Regions from separate parts of the Homo sapiens genome. Here regions 2, 3 and 4 are each linked to region 1. The links are contacts of gene promoters, found by promoter capture Hi-C in blood cells and fetal thymus (Javierre and others, 2016). All regions are on one chromosome and are shown on one strand. The core of a region is centred on a gene start or on the middle of the fragment in contact, and the rest is flanking DNA. Distances in the headings are between cores, read along the strand shown.

Region 1 (3,570 bases), core at 335-2,834:
GGTACATAACTCAAGGAAAACATACATACAGGTTGAGTATCCTTTATTAGAAATATTTGGGACTAGAAGTGTTTTGGATTAGGGATTTTTTAGGATTTTGAAATACTCTATTTGCATTATCCTTACTGGCTGGGCACCCCAAATCTGAATATCTAAAACCAGAAATGCTCCAATATGCATTTCCTTTAAGTGTCATATCTGTGTTCAAAAAGTTTCAGATTCTGTAGCATTTTGGATTTTCAGATTTGGAATGCTCAACCTATAACATAGAGGAAGCCTGTTAAAAGGAAAGTAGATGTCAGCTTACATGTTGGGAATTTTGAAAATGAATACTGTTATGATTATTTCCTCTTAGAAAAGACAGAAGTGTTAAATTGATTGCAATCATTGTTCTGAGGGAGAGTATGTCCTTGCTTAAAATGTACCATGAGCCAAAGATAGCTTTGCACTGAACAGTGAGTTCTAGCTACAAAAATGTTTTGCTTTGTTACACTTGACTTTCCAGTAAGATAAAGTAGTTACACCAGTGGAAATTCTTAGGTCTGAGGAGGAAATAGCTCATATTATATTAGCTAAGCCTCTTTTACTTACTCAATACCAGGGAGGAATAGAACCTGCACTGATGTACAGGAGTTGGAGGTTGCTCTGATTGCAGACTGGCCTGCATCCAGGTTATCTGAGACCCAATCCTACCACTGTGGCTCTTCCTGAGAAAGGAAATATGCAAATGGCACAGGAGAAGCCAGGCAATGGTTCAAGGAGAGCCATTAATACTGTATCTGCTAGCAAGCCACATCCATTCTGAGGAAAAAAATTCTAAATGAGGTAGAAGAAAGGCAGTCTGGCAGTTAGTGCTATTTCTTTCTTGGTTGTTAATACTCAAGCAAATAGGACTCTTTTTTCTTGTTTAGTGCCTTTTATAAAAGAATATTTAATTCAGTTGAAACACATGGATGAACTAGGCTGAAGAGAATATAAATTATGATTATTTGGGACAGTCTGAAACTTATTTTTTATTTCATGAGGACTGTGGCAAAGTAGACACTTGAAGATAGGCTGGGTGCAGTGGCTCATGTCTGTAATCCTAGCACTTTGGGAGGCTGAGGTGGGCAGATCACTTGAGGCCAGGGGTTTGAGACCGGCCTGGACAACATGGTGAAACCCTGTCTCTACTAAAAATACAAAAATTAGCCAAGCATGGTGGCGTGTGCTTGTAATCCCAGCTACTCAGGAGGTTGAAGCAGGAGAATCGTTTGAACCTGGAGGCGAAGGTTGCAGTGAGCCAAGATTGTGCCACTGCACTCCAGCCTGGGTGACAGAGGGAGACTCCATCTCAGAAAAAAAAAAAAAAGCTGATTACACTATAGGTCAAAGATTATTATTAAGTGCCACCAGAGTAATACAAAAAGAATCAGCAGAGGGAAAGAGTAATTTTTTAGAGGAGTTACTTAGAATTTCTCTGCTGAGTTTGAGAGACCCTGGAAGAATTGATCAGCAGAGTTTAAGGGGAGGACTTCCAGGTCACGGGAAAATCTTAACCAAGGGAATGGCAGCAGAAAATTGTAGAGCAGACTTTCATTTTGCTTAGCTGTAGCCATGGTATATTTGTAATCAGACCTCTTTTCAGAAATGGAATTCCACAGTGCTCCCAATCATATTAATTTGTTTTTAGACTTAAGATTTATTTGGGGATTATAGCAATGATGTTTGGTTGGTGAAATTCCAGGTGATAAAGCTTGTTGCTAAATTCAGAAATGAAAGTGCATGAATACTAAGATCTGAAAAGAGCTAAAGAGCCGTAAATCACGTTTGCTTTCTTACCCCAAGATCTCGGGAATTGTCCACGTGAACAGACACATAGCGGGCATTGATTCCTTTTACACAGTTGATGGTGATGTTCTTAGTTTTGTTTTTATCTTCATCTCCTGATTCCCAAAAGGTTTCTGTGGAGCCGTCTGTCAAACTGCCAATCATGGCAGGTCGGCTTGAAGTTTTTATGTCAACAATGCTGGTTAAGTCCTTTAAGCACATTACTATGCATAATTCCTATCAGAAACAAATATAAGTACTTATGATACTTAAAAGCAAATCTTTCGTGATGATAAAACAAACAGGTATAAGATAAAACATAATGGAAGACAGGATCAAATTGATTATGAATAACTTACAGTTTCTCCTTTGATGTATTATTAACTAACAGGACAACCAGGATAATAACTGAAATGACTGACCTGACTCATAGCTTCAAAGCCAGACTGTATACTGATGCTAAAACTCTCTTCACTATCGCCATCATCTGACTTTGACAAAATATTGTTAATGTGATGAAAGACGTTGCTCTGATGAAGGAACTGGTGATCAGATTGCTTGAATTTGAGACTCCAGCACCTAAAAAGGCGATATATAAGCAATATACGAAATAATTATTTTCCAGGAACATCTAAGGAACTCTTAGATGAGTACTCTGTAGCTAATATCTCAAGAAATTTTAATGTTCTAGTAACAGACATTTTAAAAATTCAGGGAAGAAAATCATTCCTATTGTTTTTGTTTTTGAGAAATAAAGGTAACTTCTTTGGAACAAGGTAAATTCTAAGGAAAGTTGACCCATTTTAAATATAAAAGAATTAGACAGATGAAGATCAAGGCTACAGAAGCAAAAAGGGTAATGAATCTATTGTGTAAACAAGTGGTACACCAACTGCAACAACCCCTCAAATTTATTACTCTTACAATGCCATACTAATTCATCAGGGTATAGTTTATCTTGTAGTTCAAAAATCTTGTGAGGAGGACAAAGAGAAATCTCTCTTCCACTGGTCTTATCATTAGTAACATGGGAAGCCCAAGCATTCCATCAATCTATTTCTTGTATACATTAATTAGGAGAATTTATTTATAAGTGTGAGTCCAGTATGTGAATCTAGTAACAAGGTTCACAGTGTAAAAGCAATGCTAAATTCTCAACACATTTCAAATTGAAATTGGAATCTGTTGAGCATCTGTGATGCTCCTTAAGGTGCTTTTAGGACTGGGTGCATACAACCAGGCTCTGTTTTCCCCAAGATTCTTTTCAAGTCAAAACTCTATTTTGGTTTTTGTTTTTGAGATTTCATTTTCCCTCTCTCTTTTTGGGACATTTAAGTGATTTGAGGTAGGAGACTGGGGAAAGTGAGGGAGATTGCTACAGTGATAATTTAGGGCACTAAGAATTACATTAGCCACATTTTACAGGAGGGCAAACAAATGTTAACTAAGAGGAAGGACCATTCTAAAAATTATGACTGTAAGGAGGGAGGCACCATCTATATAATGTAGGGATTCTATCTTACTATTTAAAGAGCTTTTTTTGGAGCATTTCATACTTTGAATATTCCATAAACTCTCTTGTCCAATGTACCTAGGATATGTGGATACCAAAATTACCTCAGGGCCATTTGCTGTAATGAACTGCCGCTGGGGAGAGACATCATAAGGTCTGAGATGGTCTGCAGCAAGCGGTGAAAGGTGTGTGGTAAAGGATGAGCAGCTTCCCCGGCAATCACTATGTCTGAGAGTGGATGTTCACAT
Region 2 (3,130 bases), core at 122-2,621, 430 kb after region 1:
CAATAATATGGAAAACTTCTTTAATGCAATGTAGAATAATTACAGAACATTCAGATTCTAAAATTAAATCAATTAATTCTTTGTGAGGAAAGCTAAGGGCACTAGTAAAATTGTAAGCTTAACATTTAAACTCAATTATCAGGGTTGGCTTGGAGAGCCTCATACACATTAGCATTGCTCACTAGTTTCACTATTTTCCTAGTGAAAAAATAGAAAATTTTACATAAATATGGAAAATGTTATAATACTTAGTACACTGTTGATAAAAAAAGATCTTACATGTCAATTGCAATTTTACATTGCAATTAAATACATTCCTTATTCTGACATTATTGTAGTTTAAATAATGAATGAAATAGATAATAATAGTGATTATGATAAAAAGATATTTTCATTCATAACCACAGTTCACTCATCAACTTCAGTAAGTTTAACTTTGATAAAGTAATTTTATCCAAGCTATTGCCCTTATGCAATTGCCCCAACAATGACCTTTGTAGCATTTTCCATTGCAATTGAGGATCTAATCTATGGTCAGACATTACATTAATTTGTCATGTATCTTTAATCACCTTTAATCTAGAATATTTCATAGCCTTTACTTGTCTTTTGTGCCAGTAACATTTTTGAAGACTATACTCTTCTCCTCTTTTAAATAGAATATTCCTCATTGGTCTGCTGGTTTTTCATGAGGGAGTCAAGTTATACATTTTCAACCGAATACTTCACAGGTGATGTTGTGCCCTTCTCAGGGGAGGCATGCCAAGGCCATCTGTTCATCACCAGTGATGTTAATTTTAAGCACCTGGTGAAGGTATTGCTGAGCTTCTCCTTTGTATCATTACTTTTTGAAAAAAACGTTGAAGCGAATTAGCAATTTGTGGTAACACTGTTTAAGTTCATGGCAAGTTTCTGGTCTTCAACAAAATATCCCCCTAGATTTAGTATCCATTGATGATTCTTGCTTTATCCAGTCTTTACCATGATGTTGCAAAATGGTGATTTTCCAGCTTCAGCATCACCTCCGCATTTACCAGCCAGCACTCAGCATTCTACATTAAGCAAGAGACCTTCCTTTTCCTCACCTATTTATTTATTAATTATTGGTATCACTAGTTCGTATTTTTTCAATGGTTTATAATGCATTACTTAATATTTTGGTGTTCAAATTGTCCCTGACCTGGTCATTAGGGGTTTCTTCAAGTTGATTCCTTGGCTTTGTTGCAAGCCCCACACTTTTTTTAAAGCATTTCCGCACTTTTAGACATAGTATGTTCCAGACTCATCTTGCATCATCTGGCTCTAGAATCTATCTCACTGTGGGTAATTAGTGAATACCACATTGTATCTTTGAATTCCCAGCATAATTGATAGTGCAAATCTTTGCACAGATTATTTTAATATTAATTTTAAGGTATTTTAGCAGTTCAGCATGTTTACATGGAGTGGAGCCTTGATTCTTTTTAGTGGAGAATAGTGATAGAGGCCAAATTCTAGGCATTAGATGTGCTTCTGGTTACTGGTGTGTGTGTATTAGGGTCCACCAGAGGGACAGAACAAATAGGATATATGTATATATGAAAGGGAGTTTATTAGGAATAATTGGCTCACATAATTACAAAGTGAAGTCCCATGATAGGCCACCTGCAAAATGGGGAAGAGAGAAGCCAGTAGTGACTCAATCAGAGTCGAAAGCCTCAAAACCAGTGAAGCTGACAGTGCAGCCTTCAGTCTGTGGCAGAAGGCCTGAGAGCCCCCAGGAAGCCACTGGTGCAAGTTCCAGAGTCCAAAGGATGAAGACCCTGGAGTCTGGTGTCCAAGGGCAGAAGGAGCAGAAGCAAGCATCCAAGACAAGAAGAGGAAGGAAGCCAGGAAAACTCAGCAAGCAAAGTTATCCCACCTTCTTCCTCCTGCTTTTGTTCTAATCACACCGGCAGCTGATTGGATGGTGCCCACCCACATTGAGGGTGGGTCTTCCTCTCCTAGTCCACTGACTCAAATATCAGTCTCCTCTGGCAACACCCTCACAGATACAGCCACAAACAATACTTTACCAGCTATCTGGGCATCCTTCAATCCAATCAAGTTGACACCTAATATTAATTGTCACATGGGATATCTTTACTTCTTGACCCTTTCAGTGGACAGAGCTAGGAAATGTGAGTGTGTATACACATGCATACAGACACAGACATATATACACACAAACATAGAGGTATATGTGTATACAGGTGGGCATACACATACATAAACACATACAACATATTTTAGACATTATGAGTTCAGATCTATACTTTCAGTTTCAATCCACTCCCATGGGCTTCTTTCTTGCCATCCTCACTGTATAGTTTACAACCTACCTTCCTCTGTGAGAACTCTCGCTCTCAGCAACACAAATGCATTAACTCATTGTGCAATCCTATAATACATCTAAATCAGGGACATCCAATGTTTTGGCTTCCCTGGGCCACATTGGAAGAAGAAGAATGTCTTGGGCCACACATAAAATACACTAATGATAGCTGATGAGCTAAAAAAACTTGCCAAAAAATTTCATGATGTTTTTAAGAAAGTTTACAAATTTGCATTGGGCCTCATTCAAAGCTGTTCCAGGCTGCAGGTTGAACAAGCTTGATCTAAATTGTTTCAGAATCACTTTACTCATACCACTACAATAAGTAAATCTATTAAAAATACTTCTGGATTTATTTGCAGTTCTCCATTCCCACTCCTTGCATACTCCATAAATATTATTTTAATGAAAGAACAAGTTTCGAAATCACCAGCATGGGACTTCCATCTACTGTTGGCCAAGACTATACATTTAGCATGAGAATGGGAATAGTCTTTACTCCAAAATTCATTGTTTCTTGTATTTGACACATTCATATTGAAAAGTGCAAATCCTAAATGACTTGTGTGTATACCAAGAGTATTTCTTTTAAAATTTGCTAACTTTATACTTTTTTTCACCACTCACTAAGTAAAAATGGAACGTTGCACCATTGGACCTTAAATGCATATTGCTAAGTGAAAGAAGCCAGTCTGAAAAGGCTATATACTGTATGATTCCAAACATGACATTTTGGGAGAGGCAAAACTATAGAGGCAATGAAAGGATCAGTAGTTG
Region 3 (3,645 bases), core at 599-3,098, 390 kb after region 1:
AAAAAAAAAAAAAAAGGGACTCAGAGGTTGCTATTGCTTAGTTATAACGGTGACAAACCCCTTAAGACTTTGATCAGACACTCAGGTAGTAACTTGTGGCATAACTATGGAGCATCGCCTGGGAAAGAATGGGAAACTACTTCCCTGACCAGTCTTTTAGCTTGTTTCCAGTTTAGGAGACTATAATGCAAACTGTCTATGCAAAACCAGGAATAACCTAGCTCTTTTAAGAGAGATCTGAGGCTGAGGGAATGAAATACTTAAATGATTAGATAATTAATGATTAAATGCTGCTGGATCCAAGATTGGTGCTTTCTACTATTTCCTCTTTGTTCCTGGGCAGGACCTGAAGGTCCCTTGCAAAACCTCCAGATTGCCTTAAAGAATCTCTCCAAGCCTTGCTACCTACCTGCATTCTATACCTCCTTCTCCTTCTTCTCATGTCCCTGCCTCTTTCTCCCCCATTCCTTTATACCTGGGTTGTTTCTTCCTACTCAGCCCTTTAGTTAGTTGTCTTATTAAGTTGTATTTTTTTCTGGGTCTCTACTCGTTTGTTAAGAGCAGTTGATCACCCTCAGTAGTGACTGACTAGAGGAACACTCTCCATGTTGGTTTCTGGCACAGAGTTTGTGCTCACTGAATGTGTTTCAAATTGAATATTCACAGTATCTCCGCCACAGCTATCTCTCTTTAGTCTGGCATTTCGTGGACGAGTGATGAGGAGAAACCAGCAGGTTTCTACATTCACACAAATTCTCAGCCACTTGGTTTTTCCCTTCCAGCTTGAATCATGAAGAGCTTCAGAATAACATTGGTTTTCTCAGACTGGTGTATTAGCTGGGACAGACCAACTACTATCACATAGAATTTCAAAATTTCAAAGTTTAAAATTGGAATTAAAACTCCAAAATAAAACTTAATTTGTCACGTGTTTTGCAGGCCTAGCCTAGTTGGCTGACCAGTGGACAGCTTTCCTCCAGGCAGCAATTCAGCCTCTAGATCCTTAGACTTCTCCATTCATTGGGTGCAAAGGGAAATAAGAGAGAAAGAATTGTGGGCAGGAGGACGTCATAGACCAGGCCTGGAGGTTGGACCCATCACTTCTATTTAGGTTCCATTGACCAATACCCAGTCACAGGCCACATCCAACTGGAAAGACAACTATGATATATTGCCCACCAGTATACTTGGAAGAAAGGCAAAGTGGTTTGGTGAACCACTAACTGGTTGCTGGCACAGATGTCGTGGATGAATATCTGTTTTTAGTAATCAAATGATTGCTAAAATGTTAAGAAAAAACATGGTAGCCTTAAAGAGTATATAGAAAGTCCTCAGCGATTCTTACAGTTGGGAAACCATTACATTTTGATATATTGAGTTATGGAAATGAAGTTGAATATATAAAAGTATATTAAAGCTTAAAATATACATGGTTGATATACCAGAATTATGTCTGCCAATATGTTAAATGTTTTCCATGACAAAGGAATTTATGGTATTACAGCATATATTGAAGACAGTTCAGTTACATTTTTGCCATTTTTGCAGGATGTTTGACCCCTTCCTATTTCTCTTTTCATCTTTCAAAAGAAGAAAAGCTGCTTTATTTTATACGCTTACATGTATAATCACGAAAAAACAAATGCAGAAATGAAGGAGAAAGGAGGAAGCAATAAAGGAAGAAGGAAAAGAAGGAAAGAAGAAAAGAACAAAGGAAAAAACACACTAAAGACAGCACCATCATACTTATTTTTGTAACCATTTTGGTGTTATTTTGTAGTAATTGATTGCATTAAATTTTGAGGGTTTTTTTTTGCCCCAACTGTGAAGAAATAAACAAGCAGAATTGCATTTCATTGTTCGTTTTGGCATTGAGTTTAATTGTTTTCCTTTTCTTTTAGTTATATTAGCTCATCCCTCCATTCATCAGCACTCACTGCAGGCAGGATTCACTCCCAGTACAGGAGTACTATGGGTTTCTGGTGAAATGCACATTAAAAATAATCAAAGTGCAAGCAGTTTCACAAACACTGTAACATGGAGGAGTTTCCGAAGAACGGCAGAGCCTGGAAAGAATAAGTAGGAACATAGCTACAAACCAGACAAGAGATCAAAGAAATCAACTTCTTCCTAAAACAACCAACTTTACAAAATTATCATCATGGGAGCTGCATGGACAATTCAAATGGCATTATTGAGGGTGAAGATGGAGAGACAGAAAGGGCTCAGAATGGAACGACAAATGGCCTGCATTAGCAGTCTGCCTATATTCAAGAAACTAAGCTTAATGTTTTTCCACCTAGTCCGTCTGTCCGTCCGTCCTTCCTTCCCCCACTTCCTTCCTTTTGTATATAGCATCTTCAATGTGAGAGATGCCTTGTTGAGGAATATCAGTTAACATTGTCCAGTGGTGTTCAAGAACCTCAAGGCTGACTGTCATTGGCAAAGAGGCTGAACAGCTGGCACATCAGGCAGGGGTAGGTTGTGTCAGCACAGACACTATGAATGAGTGGAAGCCCTGGGTTTTGCCTCTGGATCATGGATTGGAGTGTATTATAATCAAGGTGCTCAGGTAAGAGTGTTGGGTGACCCCCATCTGTTGCTTACCTTCCGCATTGCAATCTCATTCATTCAGTCCACTTTTATTCAGTTACTGTTGAGCAAGATAGTCCTGGTCAATTGAAAAATGTGTGAGGCATGCCTATGACCTGCAGTGAATCCATGAGTCGGTAACAACTTCAATTCTTGCCTCCTTAGAAGAAAGAATTCCACTGAGAGGCATAAGGCAAAAGGAGCAACTAAGTTTTTTTTTTTTTTTTTTTTTTGAGACGGAGTCTCCCTCTATCGCCGGGGCTGGAGTGCAGCAGCGCGATCTCGGCTCACTGCAACTTCCACTTCCCGGGTTCAAGCGATTCCCTTGCCTCAGTCTCCTGCATAGCTGGGACTACAGGCGTGTGCCACCACGCCCAGTTAATTTTTTGTATTTTTAGTAAAGTTGGCGTTTCACCATGTTAGCCAGGATGGTCTCGAACTCCTGACCTCATGATCCACCCGCCTCAGCCTCCCAAAGTGCTGGTGTGTCCGGAATTGGTGGGTTCTTGGTCTCACTGACTTCAAGAATGAAGCCGTGGACCCTTGGGGTGAGTGTTACAGTTCTTAAAGGTGGCGTATCCAGAGTTTGTTCCTTCTGATGTTCAGATGTGTTCAGAGTTTCTTCCTTTTGGTGGGTTCCTGGTCTCACTGGCTCAGGAATGAAGCTGCAAACCTTCACAGTGAGTGTTACAACTCTTAAGGCAGCGCGTCTGGAGTTGCTCATTCCTCCTGGTGGGTTCGTGGTCTCCCTGGCTTCAGGAGTGAAGCTGCAGACCTTCGCCGTGAGTGTTGCAGCTCGTAGAGGCAGTGTGGACTCAAAGAGTGAGCAGCAGCAAAATTTATTGCAAAGACCAAAAGAACACAGTTTCCACAGCATGGAAGTGCACCCCAGCGGGTTGCCACTAGTGGCACAAGCAGCCTGCTTTTATTCTCTTATCTGGCCCCACCCACATCCTGCTGATTGGTCCATTTTACAGAGAGCTGATTGGTCCATTTTACAGAGAGCTGATTGGTCCGTTTTGACAGGATGCTGATTGGTGCGTTTACAATCCC
Region 4 (3,417 bases), core at 118-2,617, 480 kb after region 1:
ACGTCTATTTTGGAAACTTTTGTTTATGAATTTCTGTCAACCCTTTTAAACTTTTTCATAATTGTGACCTGTTTTAAGGGTGCTGAGCTTATAACCTTCTACACAGAGTTGCCATTTCATTTTCCTGATGCCAGCTTTAGTTCATCTGATTTACTGTTCTGTGATCTGGCAGACTCTCTGCCGAGGCCCTGTCCTTAGTCTTTATGGTTTTGAAGATCACAGCCTGGTTCTCAGCTGGCTCTGATTCCACCAACAAAGGAGAGGCTCACCATTTGAGTCCAGCCACCTCTATGTTACTCACCTTTCTCTGGAACATTTAAGAACAGAAATGCTTGTGTTTTTTAAGTGTGAAATACGCTTCATATTCTTAATGTACATACAATGTGTTTTAGGTTAACAAGAGCTTAATGCCTTTCATGCTTATTTCATATTTTAAATTGTATTCGTTTCCTGAACCCTTCCTCATGGTGGCCAACATTGTGGCTAAAGTATAATATCAGTCTTTTAAGGAACAAAAATCTGTAAGCCCTAGACATTTCCCTCTTGACCTATAACTAACATCACAGAATCAATCTCCCTAAAAGAGTAGGGCAGATTATTTTTCTCCTGGTACTTGCTCAGAGGGTATCACTTGTCATTTTTCTGCTCTGCAGAGGATGTCTTTACCTTGATGCCCACTGAACAGCCACTTTGGAGCACCTGCTATGTGCCAGCATTGTGCAAGGTGCCAGGAATACAAAGATGCATAGAACATAATCTTTGACCTGAAAATATCCACAAATGAAAATACTAAAGTTTATCACGGAAAGTGCTATAGTAGAGGTGTGTGAGTGCACTATGGGAATAGAAAAGAGGGGAGACTAACTCTGCCTAAATAATCAGAGATCTCACCAAGGAGGTGGTCTTTGGTGTTGGCGATGATGCTTGAAGGATTATGAGGAAAAATTTCCCAAATGGGCAAGGCTGGCTGGTGGGCATGGAGCAAGGAAAGAAGCACTTCCAGCAGAGATGACAATGTGTGCAGAGAGCTGGCATGAGTGGGGTCTGAAAATAAAGGAAAATAAATAATACACTGTCATCACCTTAGATAATACCTTCATATTATCCACAATTGGAAAGTTTGACCATGTACATGTTCTGGTAGATCATTTAAACATGTCAAATAAGGATGACAGCCAAATAGCACCTGTAGGAGGCCTCCTGTGCATCAGTAGCTGTGTTAAGAGCTGCAAACAAAACAAAGTCCCTGCTTCCACAGAACTTGCATCCTAGTTGAAAGTGAGGGAGGGGAGAGAATGAAAATAACATGTTGAAACATGTCTTATTGTGATAAGCAGTAGGAAGACAACGGCCACCTAGAGACATAGTGATGGTGTCTGGGGAGGGGCTGTTTTCTGCAAGGGGACAGATGGCCCTCCGGCACCTGCTTGCATTTACACATTTACACACGATGGTGAACCACACCATGATTTCACTCTGGGGTTGTATTAAAAATTGGGGGAGTTGTATTTGGCATTTTTCTTCACTCTTTTTCTTGCCTTAACTGATGCTGTTCCCTCTACCTCTATTCGAAAATGTTCACATCTATTTCCCCTCCAAGGCCCAGCTCAAACTGCACTTCATTCCATAAAGCCTCCTCTGGTTTGTATACCTAGAAATCAGCTTTCTCAGCTTAGAACTTCCTTACACCTTACCCAAACCTCTTTTATGGCACTCACTACTTTCTGTCTTTGGATGTACATACCTGATTTATCCGTCTTGCTCTGTGTAGATAGCAGCTATAGTTATTTTATTCTAGACTTCCTTATATTTCTCAGTACAACAGTGTTGATTAATATAGCAAATGTTACTTTCTCCACTACTAATATAGCAAATATGCTTTTTGCACTATTCCTAGCCCTTTTTATATTGAGTACATCCAAATAGTTGCTTAATGAAAATATGCCACATCAACTTTAAAATTAAATCTTTAGTATCTAGTCTTAGTACTTATTCTAATGCAATACTTTGGATATGATGGCTTTAAATGATACTTAGAAATACAAACACAATAAATAATGGGGAATTCTCCAAAGAGCTTGCTTGCTTTATATCATAGGGTTATATGAGGCATTAAACAGGCTTTTTTAAATGTTTGATCAATCTGATCAGGATCTTTCCTTTGCTTCCATGATCACGATTCCTTCTACTGAGTCTTCTATCCTCTTTTCTGTTATTTTCTAAATTCCCCCCCCATTTTTGCTCATCTGTCTTGCTCTCCTCTCTTTGCCCTTGTCTCTCCTCTTCTTCTTCCTATCACTCTTCTCTCTTCCTCTTTTCCTTCTATCCTTCCTTTCTCTCACTTCCCACTTTCTCCTTTTCATTTTCCCCAGCTTTTCCTGTTTCCTTCCTTTCCTTTCCTTTCTTTCCTGTCTTTCCCCTCCTTCTGCCTGTAAGTTCCCTTCTTTCAACCCTGTCCACGGTGCTGAATATTAAACAAAGCATTTATGGATTTAGTCCATGGTGCTGGTTTATGGCACTGCTAAAACTCTGCAAACAAAATATAGTTGAGTATAAAAGATTGAGTTCCTATTATGTAGAAATAAACAACATTGACAAGAGTACATATTAGTTATTAAACATTTTGAGTGTTGTGTTGTTTGTTGTGTTGTATGATTTACGTATCCTTACCCCTAATTTGAATATGTTACATTGTTGTCAGAAATAATAGAAGCCAGAGAAGAATCTTTTATTAGCATAGGATATTGGATTTTCCATAATTTATTCTATCCAAGTTGGAAGATTTGGGTATTAGAAATCTATCTTTCCTTGGTAACATGTATATTTCCTACTGAAATAGGTCAAAATATTGCCATATGTATGATAGGTTTTATAAACTTTTTTTTTGTAATTGATTTGATTTTTTTTTTTTTGGTAATTATGTTTGCTACAGGAAAGTAAATGAGAGAGATGTGCCAAAAGCTACAATTAGTCGGTACAGTTCTGATGACACTTTGGACAGGTAAGGGGCTTTTGAACCATATAAATGGAATGCATAACATATTAAATACATTTTCTAATAAAGTTATGAAGTATTTAAAAGTTTACCAAAATAAGGTTTGAATCACTGATATTTTATTCCCAGGGATGGAGGGCTCTAAGAATTGAATTATCTTCTTCAGATCTCACTAAATCTTGGCTAGATGCATTTCCAAAATCTTTTTAATAGTAGATTGATATGAAATATTCTTAGAGACACTGATTTGAGTACAGCTAGGGTGGGTACTGTGCAGAATCTGTTAGTTCAATATAGGTTTTTTTTTTTTTTTTTGCGAATATGTATAATCCTTGTTCCAACATTTGGTTCTTCCACACTGATGGTGGAAAAACGTTAGTCCATGCAACTGCTTTATGGAGAGACTGTAAATTTTAATAATA

The links. Contacts are between HindIII fragments. The CHiCAGO score rates a contact against its expected background, and 5 or more counts as called.
Region 2: a contact is called between a fragment that was not itself captured here and the fragment with the promoter of MYCBP2-AS2 in region 1, in 1 of 17 cell types (M2 macrophages). The highest score is 6.4, in M2 macrophages.
Region 3: a fragment that was not itself captured here is called in contact with the fragment with the promoter of MYCBP2-AS2 in region 1 in 2 of 17 cell types (naive B cells and total CD4 T cells); the score reaches 5.3 in naive B cells.
Region 4: a fragment that was not itself captured here is called in contact with the fragment with the promoter of MYCBP2-AS2 in region 1 in 1 of 17 cell types (M2 macrophages); the score reaches 7.1 in M2 macrophages.

What each region holds. Positions count from the first base shown.
Region 1 is chr13:77,079,606-77,083,175 of GRCh38, forward strand. MYCBP2-AS2 (MYCBP2 antisense RNA 2) reads right to left here and starts at 1,585. Exons shown (of 2, transcript NR_170173.1): 1 at 1,309-1,585; 2 at 906-1,056. It overlaps MYCBP2 (MYC binding protein 2), which reads right to left. Exons shown (of 83, transcript NM_015057.5): 63 at 3,427-3,570; 64 at 2,232-2,388; 65 at 1,822-2,046. MYCBP2-AS1 (MYCBP2 antisense RNA 1) reads left to right here. Exons shown (of 4, transcript NR_046716.1): 3 at 3,405-3,507. The HindIII fragment of the contact is 5,615 bases long and covers 1-1,733 here.
Region 2 is chr13:77,512,213-77,515,342 of GRCh38, forward strand. No RefSeq gene overlaps it. Among named protein-coding and RNA genes, the nearest start is that of SCEL, 22 kb to the right of the region's middle. The HindIII fragment of the contact is 2,513 bases long and covers 116-2,628 here.
Region 3 is chr13:77,471,401-77,475,045 of GRCh38, forward strand. No RefSeq gene overlaps it. Among named protein-coding and RNA genes, the nearest start is that of SCEL, 62 kb to the right of the region's middle. The HindIII fragment of the contact is 866 bases long and covers 1,416-2,281 here.
Region 4 is chr13:77,560,899-77,564,315 of GRCh38, forward strand. It overlaps SCEL (sciellin), which reads left to right. Exons shown (of 33, transcript NM_144777.3): 5 at 2,933-3,001. Among named protein-coding and RNA genes, the nearest start is that of SCEL, 27 kb to the left of the region's middle. The HindIII fragment of the contact is 5,677 bases long and covers 1-3,417 here.